Linked DNA regions of Homo sapiens: regions 1, 3, 4, 5 and 6 are each linked to region 2. Evidence: promoter capture Hi-C in 16 types of primary human blood cells and fetal thymus (Javierre and others, 2016). All regions are on one chromosome and are shown on one strand. The core of a region is centred on a gene start or on the middle of the fragment in contact, and the rest is flanking DNA. Distances in the headings are between cores, read along the strand shown.

Evidence for each region. The method cuts DNA at HindIII sites, captures the fragments that hold promoters and counts their contacts. A CHiCAGO score of 5 or more calls a contact.
Region 1: a contact is called between a fragment that was not itself captured here and the fragment with the promoter of CCN6 in region 2, in 1 of 17 cell types (naive CD4 T cells). The highest score is 5.1, in naive CD4 T cells.
Region 3: a fragment that was not itself captured here is called in contact with the fragment with the promoter of CCN6 in region 2 in 1 of 17 cell types (non-activated CD4 T cells); the score reaches 6.7 in non-activated CD4 T cells.
Region 4: a contact is called between a fragment that was not itself captured here and the fragment with the promoter of CCN6 in region 2, in 1 of 17 cell types (non-activated CD4 T cells). The highest score is 5.6, in non-activated CD4 T cells.
Region 5: a fragment that was not itself captured here is called in contact with the fragment with the promoter of CCN6 in region 2 in 7 of 17 cell types (naive CD4 T cells, total CD4 T cells, naive CD8 T cells and 4 more); the score reaches 8.0 in naive CD4 T cells.
Region 6: a contact is called between a fragment that was not itself captured here and the fragment with the promoter of CCN6 in region 2, in 3 of 17 cell types (total CD4 T cells, activated CD4 T cells and non-activated CD4 T cells). The highest score is 7.1, in total CD4 T cells.

What each region holds. Positions count from the first base shown.
Region 1 is chr6:111,550,972-111,554,241 of GRCh38, forward strand. It overlaps TRAF3IP2-AS1. Among named protein-coding and RNA genes, the nearest start is that of TRAF3IP2, 53 kb to the right of the region's middle. RefSeq lists enhancers at 1-3,270, 1,811-2,503. The HindIII fragment of the contact is 4,095 bases long and covers 1-3,270 here.
Region 2 is chr6:112,052,755-112,055,968 of GRCh38, forward strand. It overlaps CCN6 (cellular communication network factor 6), which reads left to right and starts at 1,350. Exons shown (of 5, transcript NM_198239.2): 1 at 1,350-1,651. The coding sequence starts at 1,604. The HindIII fragment of the contact is 6,629 bases long and covers 1-3,214 here.
Region 3 is chr6:111,647,985-111,651,486 of GRCh38, forward strand. All of the region lies in intron 2 of LOC105377944 (a long non-coding RNA gene), which reads right to left. Among named protein-coding and RNA genes, the nearest start is that of TRAF3IP2, 44 kb to the left of the region's middle. The HindIII fragment of the contact is 3,246 bases long and covers 1-3,153 here.
Region 4 is chr6:111,669,681-111,673,051 of GRCh38, forward strand. All of the region lies in intron 13 of FYN (FYN proto-oncogene, Src family tyrosine kinase), which reads right to left. Among named protein-coding and RNA genes, the nearest start is that of TRAF3IP2, 65 kb to the left of the region's middle. The HindIII fragment of the contact is 416 bases long and covers 1,293-1,708 here.
Region 5 is chr6:111,688,697-111,692,332 of GRCh38, forward strand. The region is part of intron 12 of FYN (FYN proto-oncogene, Src family tyrosine kinase); the gene reads right to left. It overlaps LOC105377945 (a long non-coding RNA gene), which reads left to right and starts at 1,157. Exons shown (of 3, transcript XR_001743812.2): 1 at 1,157-1,533; 2 at 3,462-3,553. The HindIII fragment of the contact is 2,862 bases long and covers 534-3,395 here.
Region 6 is chr6:111,626,074-111,629,744 of GRCh38, forward strand. No RefSeq gene overlaps it. Among named protein-coding and RNA genes, the nearest start is that of TRAF3IP2, 22 kb to the left of the region's middle. The HindIII fragment of the contact is 588 bases long and covers 1,897-2,484 here.

The DNA of each region.
Region 1 (3,270 bases), core at 442-2,941, 500 kb before region 2:
CATGAAACCCTTTTCACCACTGATGCCGTAGGTGGAATTAGCTCTTCAGGCAGACATTTTTTTCTTCTTAGGGTCAAAGGTAAGGTGACATGTGAAGGGGCAGCCAAGGCATCATCGGGAGGCTAGGGCTTGATGGAAGGGGTAAGGGGGGTGGTGCCGGGCATCTGGTTGGAGGGAAGTAGGAACACAGGCAGAAGCAGAGAAGGGCCCTTAGTGCTGCCGAGCACAGGCTGCTGCTTGACGCGCAGCCCTCAGCTGGCTGGCCCTGGCTGGAGAATTTCTCCGCAGGTCATTGGTTTTACCACAGTCTTGTTTGGAAACCATCTGTGTTCTAGGAGCCCATGGAGAACGGGCATCTTATTTTGAAAATCAGTTTGAAGCTAAAGTGGACTTTTTAATTACAAATGAGAGCAATGAAAATATAGCTATTGAACTTTATTGTTATTTTGGCCTCGTAAAAATTAAAAGTAAACTTTTTTAACTCAAGAGGATTTTATAAAATCTCCCCATTTGTGTACATTTCAGACATGAGACTCTACCACCCCAGAACCCATCTGAGAGGAATTTAAATCTCAGGAAAGTAGCAGCTTTCTTCAAGTTTCTGAGTAACTGAACCTTGTAGATAACAACAGATTGGAAGATAGAATCAGTTAATCCCTGAACTCAAGGAACCCTTGGCCCATAGCCCAGACAATACAGCATGCTGAAAATTGGTCTGGTCCCAGCCTCACGTAAACCTGTTTCTCCTCTCCTGAGAAGAATGCAGCTTTTGACCACTGCCCAGTGTGAGAGCCCGGCCTCACTGTTAACACCTCAGTGAAGGCAAGAACAAGTGGTTTGCAGTGGAGGGCATCGCCTGGAAGGTGGCAAAGGCCAGGCAGGTACCTGCGGCCCAGCTGCTGCTCGACGATGAGGCTGGCAGCCAAGTCTAGCGCCAGCCTTTTCAAAAGCAGCCCTTTTGATAACACTGATTACATTTCCCTCACCGGAGCCTTGGGTTAATTGAGCAACAGCCAACTTCTCTGGGTAACAAAGAGGAGGGGAAAGTAATCCAAACACAGGTTTTATTATAAAAACCAGGGAGTGAGAGAAGTGTGTTTATTCTGTAAGATAACACACCTGCTCGGTGCCGGGGAGGCTCATTTCCATCAGTTGCCATGGCAAACTCGTTATACTTCAAGGCCATGTGGCTTTGTTTCCTTTTGGGATCTGGTCCTTGTCCTACCTTTTCTAACAACTCCAACACAATGACATGGAAGCCTGCGACAGCATAATTGATTTCTCCTTCCCTCTATCAACGGTTCACATTTGTTCAGCACAGGACTGAGTCTGCCTTCTCCTTTGAACTCCTTGCTAAGCATGAAGGCATGCTTCAGAGAGCCACCCTCATTAACATTCCAGGTCCCTCTTCCCTGTCAGCAATAAACAAGCCCTGCATCAATGGCCTCCTGCCTTCCACTTTTACAAATGAGTGGCTCAGTTCCATGTTTTGCTGCTGATCCAGGTGCCCAGGCGCATACAACGCGAGCCTAAGAAGCACGCGGGAGGGACTAAAAATAGAACAGCAGTTTTGGATGCATACCAGAGCAGCTACTTCATCTCAACTTGCTTTGCACGCTAAGCCTAATGGGATCCATCAGGCATGAGTTCTCTCGCGCGCTAGCTCCCTCCCTCTCCCCTCTCTCCCCAGCTGCCGATTTCCATCAGCCCCTTCCTGGTGAAGGGAGCAAAGGGAGGTCAGGCAAGGGACAAGAAATGTGTGCCCTTATGGTTTTCGTTTACAAGCCCTGGGAGATCTGGGGGCTGCAGTTACTCCTTCCATAAGAGAGTTTCTAGAAAAAAAGCAGGCAGGCCCAGAACATGGTCACCTCTGCCCAGGTACACTTTGGTCCAAGACTTTCATTGTTTAGCAAAGCCTCAAATATCACTTCCTAATCACCCAATACCTATAACCTGGACCCATGCTCCTATATTCCTTGAAAAGTTAAGTAGAAAACTAAAGTACACTGAGTGTTCCTCTTACAGATCCCACCTGCTTGCTTGAGGCTAAGAATTTGGGAGCAAATGCACAGTGAGTTGGCAACATGTGACTGCCAGGGTCTGCAAAAGCCACCCACCTGCCGCCAAGTACCCTATCCAAAAGTGATCCTATCCTAAAGCATTTTCCAATAGAAAATGGAAGAAGTCATATGCAGTTAGGAACATGCTATCCTGCCTGGGCACAATACCTCCCAGCATGCCAGCTGTGTTGACTGAGCGAGGCTCCTTTGTATGCTAAAGTGCCTCGTGCAGCCTCCCTCAAAAGGCGAGCCAGCATGACCATACGTTTCTCATGTCTACATCCAAAAGGTAATGCAGATGTTCCAAACAGCTAAGTATTATTCCAAGAAGTGCCATTTTTGTGGAATCAGAATTGTGATAGGACGGGCTGGACGCAGTGGCTCATACCCGTAATCCCAGCACTTTGGGAGGCTGAGGCGGGCAGATCACTTGAGGTCAGGAGTTAGGAGTTCGAGACCAGCCTGGCCAATGTGGTGAAATGCAGTCTATACTAAAAACGCAAAAATTAGCTGGGCTTGTGGTGGGTGCCTGTAGTCCCAGCTACTAGGAAGGCTGAGGCAGGAGAATCGTTTGAACATGGGAGGCAGAGGCTGCAGTGAGCTGAGATCATGGCACTATTGTACTCCAGCCTGGGCGATAGAGTGAGACTGTCTCAAAAAAAAAAAAAAAAAGAATGGTGACAGGAAGATGAATATCACAGTATTTAAAAATCTTTTTCATTGTTGATGTTTTGGAGATTGGCCAGATACAACTAAAAGAAACTGATCTGGGCCAGGTGAGGTGGCTCACGCCTGCAATCCTAGTACTTTGGGAAACCAAGGTGGGAGGATTGTTTGAGCTAGGGGGGTCAAGACAAGCCTGGGTTGAACATAATGAGACCCTGTCTCTACAAAAAAAAAAAAATTTTTTTTATTTTGAGACGAAGTCCTGCTCTGTTGCCCAGGCTGGAGTGCAGTAGTGCTATCTCTGCTCACTGCAACCTCCACCTCCCTGGCTCAAGCAATTCCCCTGCCTCAGCCTCCCAAGTAGCTGGCATTACAGGCATGTGCCACCATGCCCAGATAATTTTTTTTGTATTTTTAGTAGAGACGGGATTTCACTGGTCTCAAACTCCTGACCTCAGGCAACCTGCCCACCCTGGCCTCCCAAAGTGCTGGGATTACAGGTGTGAGCCACTGTGCCCAGCCAAAATTTTTAAAAAATAAACTG
Region 2 (3,214 bases), core at 100-2,599:
GATAAGGCGTTGGCATCCTAACTGCAGTGGGTATTCCTTGTTGTTTGATGTGCATATACTTACAGTTTAATGACTCCTTAGTAAGCTCTGTGTGATCTGCAGGTTTTAGGGTGTCCATGGTTCTCCAAGGACACCAGATTCTCTGTGGTGGAGGACAGCCTCGTTTTTCCCAGGCCCTCAGCTCAGGCCTAAGCGAGGCTTGATGTTGTCTTTATACAGTAGTGACTGCCTTGAACAGTAACAAAGGTGAGCAATCGGTATAGGATAGGTAAGGCAGCAGGAAAAGGAGGGATAGGTAACTGATCAAAGGAAATAGAAATAGGCCTTGGGATGGGGGCAGGCAGGTGGGACGCCTCAGGGACCTGAGAGGGACAAAGCACCACGGCAGCTGCAAATGAAGATGGGAACACAGACCCAGGCTGAGAACATGGAGAAGCGAAGGTCCCACATGATGACACAGGAGGAGATGCGCTGGTGGTCACACCTTTCAGGGAGGTGAGTATGAAGAAGAGGAGTACAAACCTGTCAAAATTTTATTTTTAATCTTTTTTTTTTTTTTGAGAATAATTCTCACTCTTGTCCCCCAGGCTGGAGTGCAATGGTGCGATCTCGGCTCACTGCAACCTCCGCCTCCCAGGTTCAAGCGATTCTCCTGCCTCAGCCTCCCAAGCAGCTGGGATTACAGGCGCCTGCCACCACACCTGGCTAATTTTTGTGTCTTTTTTTTTTTTTAGCAGAGACGGGATTTCATCATATTGGCCAGGCTTATTTTTAATCTTAATTCATTAAATGAATGATTGCTACCAGTGTAATTGTTTTATTTTAGGCCCGGAAAAATGGAGGTTAACTTCATTGTCATCTGTCATGGAACTGTGGCCACAAAAAGAGGCGTCTCTCAGGCCAGGTACTGTAGGAGTCCGCCCCCTGCTCCATCTGTATTTTTTCCACTCACAGTCCACCTGGCATGAGAAAGGTGTTGGGATAAAGGTGAGCCCAGGGCACTGTGGGTGCCTCCGAGAGAATCTGAGCTGGGGGAGTCAGGGTCCTTCGAGAGCCTGCCATTAATATGGAGGGGGAAAGCCAGGGCTAGGCTGCGATGGGTGCTGTTGGTGGGGGGGCCAGGCCTGCACTCTGTACGTGAGGGTGAAGCTGGAGAAGGAAGCAGCCTAGAGAGGACCCGGAGCAGGGCAAACACAGATGGAGAAGCTGAGGGCAAGGAAGGGAATGACGTGGGACCCCACCCGTTGTCGGGGGCAGGCTCTGCTCTCCAGGAACAGGTAACACAGTCACTTAGAGAACAGTCACTACTTGCCCTGCCCTCCTGAGTCCCGGGAGGAAAGTGCTCGCCCATTCCTGACCTGTGACACGCTCACTGCGAAGGCAGGTTATTAGAAGAGTCCCATGAAAGTAAACAGGGTATTAAAACGGATCCTTAAAAATGAAAGTGCAGGCTGAAAGTTGGTAGTGTGGGAGGTAGAGGGTGTGTGTTCTTGTGCAGAGGAGCGTGGGGTTTGCAGAGGAGACAGGGGAGCTTTGTGTACCCGGAGCAATGAACAAGCGGCGACTTCTCTACCCCTCAGGGTGGCTCCACGGTCCCAGCGACATGCAGGGGCTCCTCTTCTCCACTCTTCTGCTTGCTGGCCTGGCACAGGTAAGTCCTCTCCCCCGACTCTTTCCCTTCCGGAGGCTATGGCCATCCTTAGTTCTTCAGGCCCAAAACTAAACAAAACGAAGATGGAGGAAGAGGGAGGATCAATGGCTTGTGGAACTACTTCATGAGAAATAGGAAGCCATTTTTCTTTCCAAATAAAGTTCTGTGTTCGTTCATGAGCTTCATGAAAGAAATGTAAAACATTTCTCCCTTTCAGGTAATGGCACCGAAGCCTCCTTTCGCTATGTTTGAACAGCGCCACGCTTTCCTATATATTTTTATAGCAGAGCCTAAGGCACAGCCTGGCACAGTGCGGGAAACAGTGTCTCTCCATGCCAGCTCCAGGCGGAGGCTCAACTTTCCATTGCTGTTTGCAAAATGTGCAAAGAGCCCCTGGAAAAACGAATTTTGACAGCGACTTTTTCCAGTTAAGTCTGTCCTTCTTTGAAAGGGGCACTTTGGAATAAACATTTACATTTTTAAAACATTCTCTTACTTTGTCTTTTCTCAGTCCATGTGTTTCTCACTTCCTGAAAGGGAAGCAGTCCATGGAGGCTTGGAAATATTTCAAGCAACAGACCAAAGGGAAGTTTAACTTACTATGAGCAATTCATTGCCTTAGTCTTTTTAAATAAGAAGATGAAAACAAGGTGACTTAATTGTTGATTTATTTACACGGTAGACAGGAGACAGAGCTTTTGAAATCTGGTGATTTAGGAAACATGGGTGTGTCTGTGAGTTAGTAGTTGATTGGGGCCATAAGTAGTAGATACATCTTAGAAAACAAGGAATTGCAAATTGTTATACCATATAGAGAGAGATTTACGATTTCAAAAGAATCATGACAAGAATGTCAGTGGTCCAGGTCATTGCTGCTGTTCTGTGGAGGGGCTCACTCCCCTGTCTGTGTGCCTCCTATTCCACTGTTCTTGAGAAAAAGCCTGTCATTGTGGATTGAGAGCAGCTAGATGTTCTTAGACAGCAGGTATTCCAACACAGAGAGATGTGTACAAAATAAACAACAACAAACACAGAAAGGTGTTACACAAAGAGCGGTAAAAATGGATTATTTTGTGCTTAACTTTGCTTTTATGAATTCATAAATTCATGAAATAGCTGATAATACCTAGCATTTACTGAATAGCTGCTATATGCCAAATACTGTGCTGGGTGCTTTATTTATTTATTTATTTATTTATTTAGAGACAGAGCCTTGCTCTGTCGTTCCAGGCTGGAGTGCAGTGGTGCAGTCTTGGGTCACTGCAACCTCCACCTCCTGGGTTCAAGCGATTGTTGTGCCTCAGCCTCCCAAGTAGCTGAGATTACAGGCCTACACCACCATGCCTTGCCAATTTTTGTATTTTAGTAGAGATAGGGTTTTGCCCTGTTGGCCAAGCTGGTCTTGAACTCCTGACCTCAAGTGATCCGCCCACCTCGGCCTCCCAAAGTGTTGGGATTACAGGTGTGAGCCACCACCTCCGGCCCAAGGGTGCTTTAGTTATTATCTTAATTATCAAAACAACTTTACAAGGTGGTCATTATTAATCCCATATTACAGAGGAG
Region 3 (3,502 bases), core at 281-2,780, 400 kb before region 2:
TCAGTGTAGCCAGGAGATAAGGCAGGGGTGATGGTGGAGGTGATGGGACAGATGAGCCTGGCCAGACAGTGGAGCCAGACTGTAGTGGACCAAACTCCCTTGGATTTGCTCAAGTAAAGAGCTGATGTACACAATGCTTCAGAGGAATCTCACAGAAATGATGTGGGGTAGCGCTATTGGACCTCCAGATGCTAGAGCGTGGACAGTAGCTATTCCCAGTCACTCTCTCTGGTGGCCCATGGTTTCTTGCCACTGCTTCTCTCTGCACGCTGTGTCATCTGATCACCCATAGGGCAACTCTAGCCCTGACTTAAGCCAACCTGCAGGCCAAGCATCTGTCACCACGGTCTCTTGATTCTTGGATCCAACTGGACAGAGACAATTTGATTAGCCAGTGGCCAATGGACTGTTTGTCCCTTGGTCAGGTGTCTACCCCTCAAATATCAGCTGTTCTGGTCGGGGGCAGGGTGGGGGTGTTATACAGTGAAAACACAACCTACTGTGCTCACCCTTCAATAGAGGGGATAGTGTGTGTGGAAGTTGAAAGAAAGAGGCGTGGCTGGGCAGGTCCTCCAAACAGGTCTCCTTCCATGACAGTGGGGGTCAGTGGGAACTACCACATTTTTTGAGGAGGAAAATAACATAATTAAAGCTGTAATTCTGGAAGATTACTTTCTACCATGTGAAGGATAAGACTGAAGGGGAAGGAGAAGTTGCCAACACGTATCAAACATATACCACGTACCATATACCTGGCACATGTATCTGTGTACCTAGCCCCTATGATGCTAGATACTGTTTGCATATTACTTTTTCTAGTTTTCACAAGAGCCCATTTTATTTATGAGAAAACTGTAATCTCAGTGCCTTGGGAGGTTCAGGTGGGAGGATTACTTGAGTCCAGAAGTTTGAGACCTGCCTGGACCAAAGAAAACACACACACACACACACACACACACACACACACACACACAAAATTAGCTGGGTGTGGTGGTGCATGCCTGTAGTCCTAGCCCCTAGAGAGGCTGAGGTGGAAGGATGGCTTGAGCCCAGGAGTTTGAGGTTACAGTGATGAGCTATGATTGTACCACTTTATTCCATCCTGGGTGACAGAGCAACCCTGTCTCTTTAAAAAATTAATAAATAGCCCAGGTGTGGTGGCTCAAGCCTGTAATCCCAGCACTTTGGGAGGCCGAGGTGGGTGGATCGCCTGAGGTCAGGAGTTCGAGACCAGCCTGGCCAACATAGTGAAACCCCGTCTTTACTAAAAATACAAAAAATTAGCCAGGCGTGGTGGCTGGCACCTGTAATCCCAGCTACTCGGGAGGCTGAGGCAGGGTAATCACTTGAACCAGGCAGGCAGAGGTTGCAGTGAGCCGAGATCACACACCATTGCACTCCAGCCTGGGCAACAAGAGTGAAACTCCATCTCAAAAAAAAAAAAAATTAATAAATAAAAAATAAAAGAAGCCAGAAGGGAAAGTGAAGTAACTTGCCCAAAGTCACACAGCTAGTTAGTCAATGGTAGAATTGTGATTTGAACTTAAAAGCTGTCCAGACTTGAAATTCACACCAAGCCTGAAACCTACCGGGATAGCCCCGTGTGCCTCTCTGCAGGTGCCTCATGTGCTGTGAGTTCGGACTGAGCTTGTCATCTTCTGCCTGTTTTCTATTCCTTTTCCATATCACCATCCTCCCAGTCACCTAAGCCCAAATCTCTCTAAATCTCAGTCTCCTTGTCTGTAGAACAGAGATAATAATAATGTATCCCAAAGGTTGTTCTGAGAATTAACTTAGAGGATTCTCATGAAGTGCTTAGCACCATGCATGGTGCTGTGGTGTTGCCAGCTGTCCCCAACCTTTTTGGCACCAGCACCAGTTTCATGGAAGACAATTTTTCCATAGCCTGGTGGTGGGCATGGGGGTGGGGGGAGGGTTTCGGGATGAAACCATTCCACCTCAGATCATCAGGCATTAGCTTCTCATAAGGAGCCTGCAACCTAGATCCCTTTCATGCAGTTCACAATAGGATTCAGACTCCTTTGAGAATCTAAATGCCACTGCTGATCTGACAGGAGGTGGAGCTCAGGCAGTAATGCTCACCCACCTGCCGCTCATCTCCTGCTGGGCGGCCCGGTTCCTAACAGGACACGGATTGGTACCACTCCATGACCCAAGGGTTGGGGACCCCTGGTGTCCGCAGAATTGACAGAAAGAGCAACTTATTGGCTGTGGGGAACCAAAGGAGTATGACTTGGCGTTTTATTTATCTAATACAGGAGCTGGCAAACTTTTCCTAAAAAAGGCCAGATAGTAAGTATTTTCGGCATTGTAGGTCATATAGTCTCTGTTGCAACTACTCAACTTTACCATTGTTGGGCAAAACCAGCCATGGACAAGACATAAATGAATGAGTGTGCTGTGTTTCAAGAAAACGTTATATACAAAAACAAGCAGGGGCCGACTGGACCCAAGGGTTGTCTTTTGCTGCCTCATGGTCTTTGCCCTGCCTCATCTCATGAGGGCGAGGCCATGTCTGCTTAGTTCATCGATTTTTCTCCAGGGTCTAGTGCAGTGCCTGGCCCATAGTAGACATTCCATAAATATTTATTAAAGGAATGATTAAATGAGAGAAAGCAAACAAGCAAGAACAAAAGAAAGACTGAGAAGAGACAAAACTTTGGGATCACCTGGATATCTGTTACAGGGTTCTGTGTAGGAAATAGAAACCATGCTAGAGTTTTTAAGCAAAAAAGAATATAACATGAAGAATTGCAAACTTGTTGGAAAGGCTGGAAGAGAGGGCTCTAGGCTGGGCCTCCGAGGATGGCTCCCAGAATGTGGTAAAATCAATCTGTCAGGGGTGCTATCACCTCTGCCACAATCAGGAAGGAGGACTCAGGAAGCTGCCACTGGGACTGTTGACTGCAAGAACATCATGGCTGCAAGACAAGGCCAGAAAGTGGTCAGCAAGCCAGGAACAGCGTGAATTACTGCCACCACCGCATTTGCCAGGCAGAGGAACCTAGCCACTGCCACGTCCACAAGATTCTTGATGCCCATGAAGCTGGAGAGTGGCTATCAGTAGCTCCATGATCTTGCTTTGCAGCAGAAAGTAGCCAAAAGCTGCAAGACATTGGCCTCTGCCTTCCAAGCTTTGTGCAAATAAGTCTAATTGGTGTAGCTTAACTCACAATCATGATCCTAATGAAAAGAGACTCTGGGCAGTGTAGTTTTTAGCTTCCTAGACTCTGCAGCACCAGGAGGCACCCTAGAAAGATGTGGGAATGGATTCATGCAACATTTAGCATAGAGTATACATTCTATTGATTGATTGCTACAAAGTAAACTATCCCAAGGTTTAATGGCTTAAAGCCACAGTCATTTGTTTTGTTCAGAAATTTGAAATTTGGGCAGAGCTGGGTGGGTCCAGCTTGTCTCTACTTAATGATGAGTCAGCTGGGGTAGTTCAACATGGGTACCACCGTGTAAGCAAGTCCAC
Region 4 (3,371 bases), core at 251-2,750, 380 kb before region 2:
AAAGGCTTTGCAGGCTATGGGCTAAATTTAAAAACCTTGTTTCAAAAACCTCATAGGTGAGTTCTTTTTTTTCTGTTTCATTCACTCATTTATTTGCTTATACTTACTGACAGTCTACTATGGGGTGGACCCTGTGCTGGACCTCGGGAATCCATCAAAGGGACTCCCTTCTCTGAAGCTGCTGAGAAATACACACAAACGGGGGGCCCAACAGAAATATGCTAGGTGTCATGGAGGCAAGCAGAAGGAGCACCCCATTTGGTCTGGACATGGGGAAGGCTTTCCAAAGCAGATGATGTTCAGTTGGGCTTTGAAGGGTTCTGAGGCAGACAGGGGAGCCACAAAGAGAGACCTGCATGTTCAAGAGACATCTCTTGATGTGTCTTGGTAACGTGTGAAGGATGGAAGACAGCAAGAGAGAAATCATGTCACTCTCCTGCTCAAATCCCCTCACTTCCCACCTCACTAAGACTAAAAGCAAAAGTTTCAACCATGAGCTAGAAAGGCCTTATCTGATTTGCCCCTGGGGCCTCTGGGACCTCCTGCTCCCTCTGCTCCAGCCATGCTGGCCTCCTTTGATTCTGGAGGGTCTCTGCACTCTCCCTTCCCCTGATGGAAGGCTGTGCTCCCAGATACCCACCTGGCTGGATTCTTGCTTCCTTTAGGTCTTCTACTCACCAGTGAGGTGCTCCTTTGCCACTCTCCCCTCTCTCCCCTTCCCTGTTTTATTTTTCTCCCTAGCTGTTACCAGCAGCAAACATTCAATATATTTTGCTTATTTATCTTTGTTTATTGTTTGTCTCCTCAAAGAAGAATGGAAGTCTATGAGGGCAGCAGCATTTGTCTATTGCTTCACTGCTGTATTCTTGGTGCTTGCAACAGTACCTGGCATATAGTAGGTGCACAATAAATATTTGTGGAATGACTACAGAAAAAGAGTTATGAAGAACTATGTAGAATTACGTTTTCTAGGATTTATCTGAAAGGCAAAGGGAAGCCGTGGACGTTTTTAACTAGCAGGGTGAGATAACCAGGTCTGTGTTTTCTAGAATACTAACTCTGTTGGCAACAATGATAGAATGGTGGGTGGGTGGGTGGTGGGGAGGCGGGGAGAAACTGGAAGCAGAGGGGAAAAGAAGGATTTGAGAAAGGTATTAAGGTGAAATGACAGGTAAAAATGCATAACTGATTTTATGCATCAACCCCAGAAAACTGCTTTTACTTAAGTCTTTTTATTTCTCACATACAACAATCCATCAGTATGAAATCAGTTCTAATCTTGAAGTAAAGAAAGCTTCTGAACTCTTGCTTGCAGAAAAGCAAGCTAGACTGCAATGCAGAGAATGCGTTCAGCTCAGGCTGCTAGCGGGGAACTGATGGAGCTCTTCTTTGGAACTGCATCCATACTTGTTACACATCTCGAAAGCAACCTTCCTCATCTGGTAAGGTGATGTAACTTTTCTCTACCACCCCCGTTAATCTCAGCATCATATTTCAGTATTTTTTCCTTCGGCTTCCAGGTTATCATTCAGTTTGAGATTGTCGTCTTCCCTTCTTTTGTCCACTCCTCTCACACAACTTGCCAATGTTCTAACATCTCCGCCTCCCTTTGCCCTTTATTTGGTCACACCTCACATACTCCACTCTAAGTTCCTTCTGGGATTGTCACTTCTGGACCTTCTTTCACGCTGGGCAAAGATGCCTGGAAAGCTTTTATAAAACCAATTTATATGTCACCCCCTCCTCCCGCACCTCCATCTTCACCTACCAGGCAAAGGAGCTTTCTTATGTGTCAAGGAAACAGCAGGCTATTCTCAGGTATGGAAGACTCAGAAAAATGTACCACCATCTACTGTTCTCCAAAAAAGAATTACTTCAAAATATACTCTAGCCAACTGAGACATGAGACATGACTACATCAAAATGCAGAATGGAAATCATGACGGACCGGGACTGGGAGTCTGTCCTGAGGTACCAGCAACAGGCACAAAGACGCAACGTGGGAAGCTGAGAAGGACCCCTCAGCGCACACTGACTGACTTGCCACACCAACAAATAGCAAGAATGCAGAGAGGAAGGTCCTTCTTTGCCTTCACAGTGACATCTGAAGGAAGCTTCGTGAAACCTCTTGTTCCTTAGGAATTATTATCCTTCGTTAGGGTAATAATCCTATAATTGGAATCCCTCTGTAAAAGCTTCTCCCTCAAGAAGAGTTTTCTGTTGGATTCACAAACCCAATTAAATAGGATTATAGCTATGTTAAAAAGCAAAACCCAGGAAGAACCCATGGCTAGGAACAGGCCTGGGAACAATTTTTTGTGGCTTTCTTTGAATGAGGACCAGCTCACGACACCCCCAATGAGGACACGGTTCCCTGGTTGCCACTGCCAACCAGCAAGGCCCCAACGCAGGCTCTCGGCCACCCTTCCAGTCACATCTCCAGGTGTGCCCCTGCACATGGCATCTTCTCAGATTCATCCTGTGGTCCCTGGAACTGTCCTCCCAGGCCTATGTGCCTTCCCACGTGCCAGACCTTGGGATGCTCTTCCCGCCTTCTGGGCTTGAGGAAACCTACTTGGCTTCCAAGGTCTGGCTTACTTGCCTTCCCTACACAGCCCCCTCTCCAGCACTCCTCCACAGCTAGAGGCAGTTATCACAGCCCACTGCAGACCAGCACTTGCTCACAGCTCTCTCTGCAGGAGCCGCTGGAGTTAGTTCTCACTTCAAACTCCTCTGCCATCCTCACAGGACTCAGCTTGAAGAGTCCCTCTCAGGACCTGCTGTGTGTGGATACCTGGATCAGGTGTCCCTGACCCCATTATCAGAATGAAGATCTAGGCCCCATAGTAGGTAAAGCCAAGTAGTCCATCCTTTCAGGATGACTCCCTCTGATAATAAACAAGGAATAAAGAAGGCTGGTTTCTTCCTGGATTTGATGCACATTTTATCTATCTGACTGTAATATCCATGAACATAGGGACTAAATTTATTTACTTGCCCACTGTGCTAACAATGCCTAGCCTGAGGCAGGTACTAATCAAGGCTTGTTTAGAGTATGAGGGTCTTATTTGCACTATCTCCCCGATAGAGGAAAATGCCTGGCACAGTTCACAGTGACTGAAGCTACGCTGAATGAATGAATCCTGGTCTAAGTGGTAAAATGAGGGCATTTTCTTTATGCTAAAACCAAACCTGACAAAAGACTCCCTCAGAAACACGCACCTGCCTTCCTTCTCCAAGGCCCCCACCTCCACCCCTTTGTCTTGGTTTCTGTGTGAGACCCTGAGAAACAAAAAGCTGCTTTGTATTACTGGAAGGGAAGGCTTCACAGAAACGCAAAACAACATTAACCTTTTCTCCCCAGTTGCATT
Region 5 (3,636 bases), core at 715-3,214, 360 kb before region 2:
GTGAAAATGCTGAGAAGGCCCATCTGATATTCAGACTTCACAAGATTAAAAACAAGAGAGGCAGCGCAGAGGCAGGGATAGTTCTCAACAGAGAATGCAAATATGAGAAAATAGGCAAGCTGGCCGGAGATGAGGACAGTGGATGTGTGACTCCCCGCTGTGTCCGGGGTGAGGGGGCCCTTGGAGCATGCAGGTATATCAAAGTGGTGACTGCCCAGATCCACTGACTGGCCTAGGCTATAAAATAGGGAGACAGTATTTTTTTTCTTGAAAGATTGATTTTTTCCCTATTTATTACTAATAGTGATTCTCTTTAAAAACTTTTTAGACTGTTTTCAAGGAAAATGTATGTCAAATACAAAAAGTTGAGGTGATAAGGATGATTTTTACATTTCACAACTCTCAAAGAACTTTTATAGATAGCCCATGTAAGTTTCACACTAATGATGTGAGGTGATCATTTTTATTATCACCATTTTACAGATGATAAAAATGAGGCTCAAAGAGCTTAAGTAACTGGCCTGCGGACACCAAGCTTGTAAGTGACAGAGCTGATTCAAAGCCAGGGATCCTAATGTCCAACCCCTGGTTCCTCAGTCTCACTAGGCTGCCTCACTAGCAGCTTAGAGGCAAGTACAGTACTGGCAAATGACACACTAAGTGTGTATTCACCTTTTTAAAAATATGTCCACAAAATCTGTTAGGCAGTAACTGCAATTGCTAACCTAGGTTTGCCCTGTAATTACCAATTCCACTGGAGAACACAGCCCAGAGAGATGAGGGCATGTGTGTATCACCACAGCAGCCGTATTTATAATGGCCCCAATTTGGAAATAACCCCAAATGTTCAGGAACAGTAGAATGGAGGCTCTGTGATATATTTGTACAGTGGAATACTACTCAGCCATGAAAAGAACTACTGTTCCATGCAGCAATATGGAAGAATCTCACAGACATAATGGGAAAGAAGCCAGACACAAGAGTAATACTATAGGATTCATGTCTGTGATGTTCATTTACAGGCAAAACTTACCAATCTATGGTGAAAAGGGGAAAAAAGGCTATTTGTGGGGGTGGTTACTGACTGGGAGTGGGAATAAGGGGTCTTCTGGAGTGCTGGAGGTATTCTGTATCTTTATCTTCGGGGTGGATTCAGGGGCATATATGTACATAAAAATTCATCGGGCTGCACACTTCAGATTTGTTCGTTTTACTGTATGTGTGTTATAGCTCATAAAGAACAAAAAGGTATCCACAAAAGGAAGTTATGCTTACACACAGCCATGTCTGTCTGAACTTGTTAGGTTTAAATCAACATTAGTCGGCACTGAAAGCTCATGAAGAAAAAACTAGAGTCTGCAGAGGATTTTCCCACTGCTTCTCTCCTGCTTGTGCAATCTCTGAAGGAAGTGAGGGCTGGAGGGGCTGTGAATTTCCAGAAGCAAGGCTTGTGACATTGCCTATGTCGGGGGTCACAGGAGACAGGTGTGGTATGGACAAGAAGATGGACAGCAGATCCTTGTGGTGCCTGTGGTGAGTTCTGGAATGATTCTGGGAAGAAGGTGCAGTGGTGGGGTAGGGAGGTGGCTGTGACCAGAACTCAGGGGAGGGCTGGAAGGCTGAGGGCCCAGCTGTGGCAGTGAGACCCAGTGAGGGCACCCCGACTCATCTTTCTGGGCTTGGAGGACCAAGACCACCACCTCAAGCTCAACAGATCCAAACCCAAATGCATCCTCTTTCTCTGAAAGTAAGATCTTCCCAAGTACTCATTTCTGTTATTGGTAATGCCATTCTCACAATCACCTGCATCTGACTACTTGGGAATTATCTTTGATTCTTCTCTCCCTTTCCTGAATAGTGTTTGAGACTTTCCATGTATCTACAATCCATTCACTCATTTGTTTATTCCCCAAGAACTTAGTATTGTACCAGATATACCAACAGTAACAAGCAACATTTATCACTATGTGCTGGGTACCCTGTTAAACACTTTACATGCATTGTTTCACTTAATCTTTGCAAAAATGCATACAGCAGACAAAATGTCTTTCCATTTTACAGATAAGTAAACTGAGGTAGGCAAAAGTTAAATAACTTGCCTAAGACCCCAGAACATCAGGTGGTAGCGCTGGATTTCAAAACCAGTTCCATCTGACTTCAACAATCCCCCACGTCTTCCTCCTCATGCTTGCTGACTGTCGTGCAGTCTTAGGCTTCTTGATATCAGTAGCTCCTAGTAAAGTCCTTTCATAGATAAGGCACTCAAATAACTGATGTTGGCATTATTTAGAGACTCTGATTGGGCAGAATTTAGCAAAGTGTTTGTAACTAAAGACGAACTATCTGCTGTAATTGAGTGAGATGTCCAGGGAATAGAGAATAAGCAATCGCCCCAAATTTCTAGTTGCTTCTAGAGTGCTGTCAGTGGAAGACCACCTCACAGGCTCAGGGCCTGGCCTTGACCACCTCCCTGACATGGGCTGCTGCTCAGTCCTGGGTAGCTGGGATGGTGCGAAGTAAGGAGCACAGGAAGGACTGTGGAACCCAGCTCCACACTCCAATTCTGCTTGTGCCCTATGCAATGCCACCTCATCTGCCCAAGGGGTGACAGATATTTCCGTGCACGCTGAGATGGGAAACTCACAACTGTTTTGAAAACAATTGTCATTCATGGTCCTAAAATATCTGTGTTTGGTGCATGTTTCCGAATGCCGCCTGCATTCCCATAATCAAGATGCAGCATGGCTGTGGCCTGTGGGTAACATAAAACCCGACTTGCAAATATTATTAGGCATGCGGACCAGCTGTCTGGAGGAGCTGATTAATTCCCAGCAGAAACTTCAGCACACAGCACACATGCCATCTGCAGAGTACACCAGCAGACACACACCAGGCCCTTTCTGCCTCGTAAAGCAGCCAGGGCAGGGCAGGCCCTCGGGAGGAATTTTATAAACAGCTGGGTTGTCCCAGTGCTGGAAAAGGAAGGTCTCTCCAACTCCCTCATACAGACACACTAGAAGGTGCTCCTTAAAAACAGTCCCATAAAATAAAGGGGAAAAGGGATGTATGACTAATCCTCTCTATCTTTATTTTCTGTTCTTTTGATCACTGACTTGATGAGATGTGGTCAGCATAGCTTAGAATGGTAGATGCAACAGGGTCAGCCATTTCTGGATTCAAATCCTGGCTCTGCTATTTTCCTAGCTGTGTGACTTTGTACAAGTTACTTAACCCCTCTGAGTCTATTCCTATTGTTTCCCTGCTTGGTCCTCACGTTTCCTCTCAGGCCTGGCACTTGGAAGGTGTTTTATAAATGGCTCTGCCACTCCCTACCCCTCTGCTGCAGGACAGCATGTCTTTTATTCTCCTGGGACATCCTGGGACCTGCCTTGCCAAGCTTCATTTCCCCCCCCCCCAGTTCAGCTCTCCAGTTCACTTACTTCTTACTTCTCTCTTTCTAGTGTTTGGCATGGATTTGAAGGTGTTTGGGAAAGGGAGGAAAGAAGAAAAATGTTTGAAGAAGGAAGGACGGGACCCTCGATTTGGAAATTAAGTAAGGAAACGCAGTACAAAGGCTAAAAGAACAAGGTTGGCCTTTTGAAAGGGGCTCTGACGGCACCTGGGGACATGATGGTG
Region 6 (3,671 bases), core at 941-3,440, 430 kb before region 2:
AACAATTTCAGAGCACAAATGGAAAAAGAAAAAAAAAGAAGGTTGGAAATCTATAGCTGGCTTTTATCAAACCAGAACTTGTAGCTCTCGGCTGACAATCAGCCAGTAGCTAAAACCCATGAGGGACAGCTCTGACTTGCAGCTTCTGGCTGGCTATTAGCTACCAGCAGCCTTCTGACCCTTTTTCCAGGGAAGTAACAGCTGGCAGCTGACAAAGGCGCTGGCAGAGCGGGTAACTTTCGCTTCTCTGGGAATGGATCTAAGATTGGCAGGAAATAAGGCATTTAAAATATGACAATTATAAGCATTTTCACTTGCCTTTTTTATTACGCTTTTGGATTCTGGCTCTGATTGCTAAAATGTATTATGTGCTAAGGAGTTTTGATGGCATTTTTTGGAGAAGTAGATGTCCCAGCGCTTTCCCTGTCACTAACACCAGCCCAGAAAAAGGTGCATTCTATGAGTGTTTTCTACGTAGCCTTCTTGAAAACAATTCCTAGTAACGATCATGATAGATTAATGGCCGTGAGATTACATGAGCTTAAGTGAAGTGCTGCCGGCTAATTAAAGCACAGCTTTGGCTCATTCGGGGCTGTTGGGCGGGGCCTTCTGTGGTGTTGCAGCAGTTGGGGAGAAAAGTAGACATTGGGATGAAGTGTAGATGGATTAACCAACAGTAGAATGAAGAACAATTTAGCCTCATTTCTCTCTTTTATGTACCACGCAGCCCTCCATTTTTTTTGTCACAAAGGGCAGAGGTAGGGGGGTTACAATAATGGGTCCTAGTAGAAGAGCCAATGATTGTGAGACGTGATAACCACCCTTGCTCAAGAGGGTGGGAGGACACAGTGCGACGACTCCACACTTATGCCCCTTGGGTCCTAGCTGCTTTGTTGCTGTGACTCTTTTTGTAGGACATAGCACTTTGGGGTTGTAGCCATTACACTATCTGCAATATTGCTATTTTAATTTTGGTAATAATAATACAAGCTGCTTATTATAAAGGTTGACTTCTATTGAAAGTTTTAATTAAAATGTAGATGTTCATCAGGGTGCAGGTGTTCATGCCTGTAGTCTCAACACTTTGGGAGGCTGAGGCAGGTGGATCACTTGAGGCCAGGAGTTCGAGACCAGCCTGGCCAATATGGCAAAACCCTGTCTTTACTAAAAATACAAAACTCAGCTGGGTGTGGTGGTGCATGCCTGTAATCTCAGCTACTCGGGAGCTGAGGCAGGAGAATCGCTTGGACCTGGGAGGCAGAGGTTGCAGTGAGCCAAGATCATGGCGCTGCACTCCACCCTGAGTCACAGAGTGAGACTCTGTCTCAAAAAAAAAAAAAAAAATGTAGATGTTCAAGGTAATGTTTGTCCAAAGAGCACCAGATAGGTGGAGGAGAAGAACACCAAGTGGCCAGTAGGACAGAGAAATTTATCCAAAAGTTCAAAAGGAGTGGACTGGCTGAGCACAGTGGCTCACGCCTGTAATCCCTGCACTTTGGGAGGCCGAGGTGGATGGATCACCTGAGGTCAGGAATTCGAGACCAGCCTGGCCAACATGGTGAAACCCCGTCTCTACTAAAGATACAAAAATTAGCCAGGCATGGTGGTGGGCGCCTGTAATCCCAGCTACTTGGGAGGCTGAGGCTGGAGAATCGCTTGAACCCAGGAGGCAGAGGCTGCAGTGAGCCGAGATTGTGCCACTGTACTCCAGCCTGGGTGACAGAGTGAGACTCTGTTTCAGAAAAAGGGACTGGACTAGCTGGAAGAAGAATGTTTCCATTACAGGCTTAAATGGCACAGATATGTGCATTTGACTTAGTAAGCAGGGTATTTTCAGAATACTGGGTTCTGTTTCTTATGTTCTTGCCTAAAAAAAAAAATCAATTTTAATAGGAAAGCTTATTTTTCAAGATGGTGGACTGGGCACATGGGTTTCTGCCACTCCCTCCCAAGGACCCATTAAAATGATAATGAACACATTTTAAAAGGGTATAACCTTATAACATGAAGACAGTCGAGGAACAGGAATCAGTAGACTATGAGAGAAGGAGGATAAGAGAGAGGACAGTTGATTTTCCAAATAAGTCCTCCTGTACCATTTGCTTTTTTAATCATGTAGATATATCACTTTGATATACAAGATTTTTAAGTTGGAAGGGACCTTTGTTGCCTTGTTCCTACTCCAGCTTTTAATTAAGACCACATTTCCACCATTCTAAAGAGATGATCTGCGATCCTATTTTTAACAACACCCAGAGAAAGGCAACACAATCCTCTCCTGAACTGAGCTGTTTCATTGTCTGATAATCCTCATGTTTTTGATTCACATTTTCCTTGCAGCCTGAAGGTGATCATGTACACCCAGGAGTAGCCCAGCTCTGTTCCATGAAATGAAACGTCCAGAGCTGTCCGCTTTATGTTTTATATGGCAACACATTTCTATGTGTGATTAAGAAACAAAACAACAAAGTGGGGAACGTACTAAGCTTATCAAAGTACAATAGTTGCTGCTTCACCAGAAAAACTAGTGCTTTCATTCTATTTCTGGCGCTGTTAGCCTGACCCTAGGGAACCAAAGACATTTTGCACTGAAATAAAGAATAACACTTAACAGCTATAGTCAAGCTCATGACAAAATTGTGAAATAGGCAAAGTTTTTTACTAGGATTTTCCCATCATCTCTGGCTGGGTGTTTCTCCTCTTACTGTCCCCTCGCTCAGCTCCAAGGCAACTATTGCTCTCTAGGTGCCAGGAAAACAAAACAAACTATTTTACACTAAAGTGTCATTGACTCCCTGTGAGTTCTACCCCAAGGACATTTGTGTTCTATATGAGTCTGTATGCAATCAAGAGAGAGAAACTATACAGTAGTTTGAACAGGGAAAGTGTAATATAAAGAATTACTCATTATAACAGGAGACTAAAGTAACAAAGAATTGATTGGTAAGATGTAAAAAGAACTCTAAAGAATATCCGAATGGCAGCTATAAGGAGCAGCCACTACCTTTAGAGCTGAGATAGAGGCCAAGAAAGAGGCCCCCCAGGGCTGAGATCCAGACTTTTTGAAGGCTCAGCTCTGGCATAGGGGATGACAGAGAGAACAGAGAGGTGAAACTTCCTGGAAATCCATCCTCTAGGGTGTCCGGAAAAGCTGATCACAGGAAGATATTGTACCAGATGCATTCTGCAACAAAACCACCCAAGGTGAGTGAAGTGCCCAGGAAGCTGCTGGCCACTGGGTGCCTCTGGTCACCATGCATTATAGGAGCCAGGCATAGGAGAAGCAGCCTGTGCCACAGGAGCCTGCTAAGCTTCAGGTGTCTGCCAAGCAAGCATAAGGGAACCAGGACAGAAACCCCTTCCTCCTGCAGTGTCTCCCCAGACCCCTCTACTGAAGCCGCAAACCACAGTATATATTTAAATGACTAAACATATATACACACAGCTTAACATTGTGCCAGATGCAAGAGAAAAATATCTGAAGGGCACAGCTCCATTTTTGAAGATCATGCAATGAATGGTGAATTTAAAGTCAAGAGGCCACAAACTTATAACCAGCACATACTGTAAAAGAGAAAGAAAAGATCAAGGCAATGTTGAACCCAATGGGATGAATTTCTAATGGTAAAGTTCCAGAATAAGCAGGCTAGTGAAGGTATTTTGGAGATGAA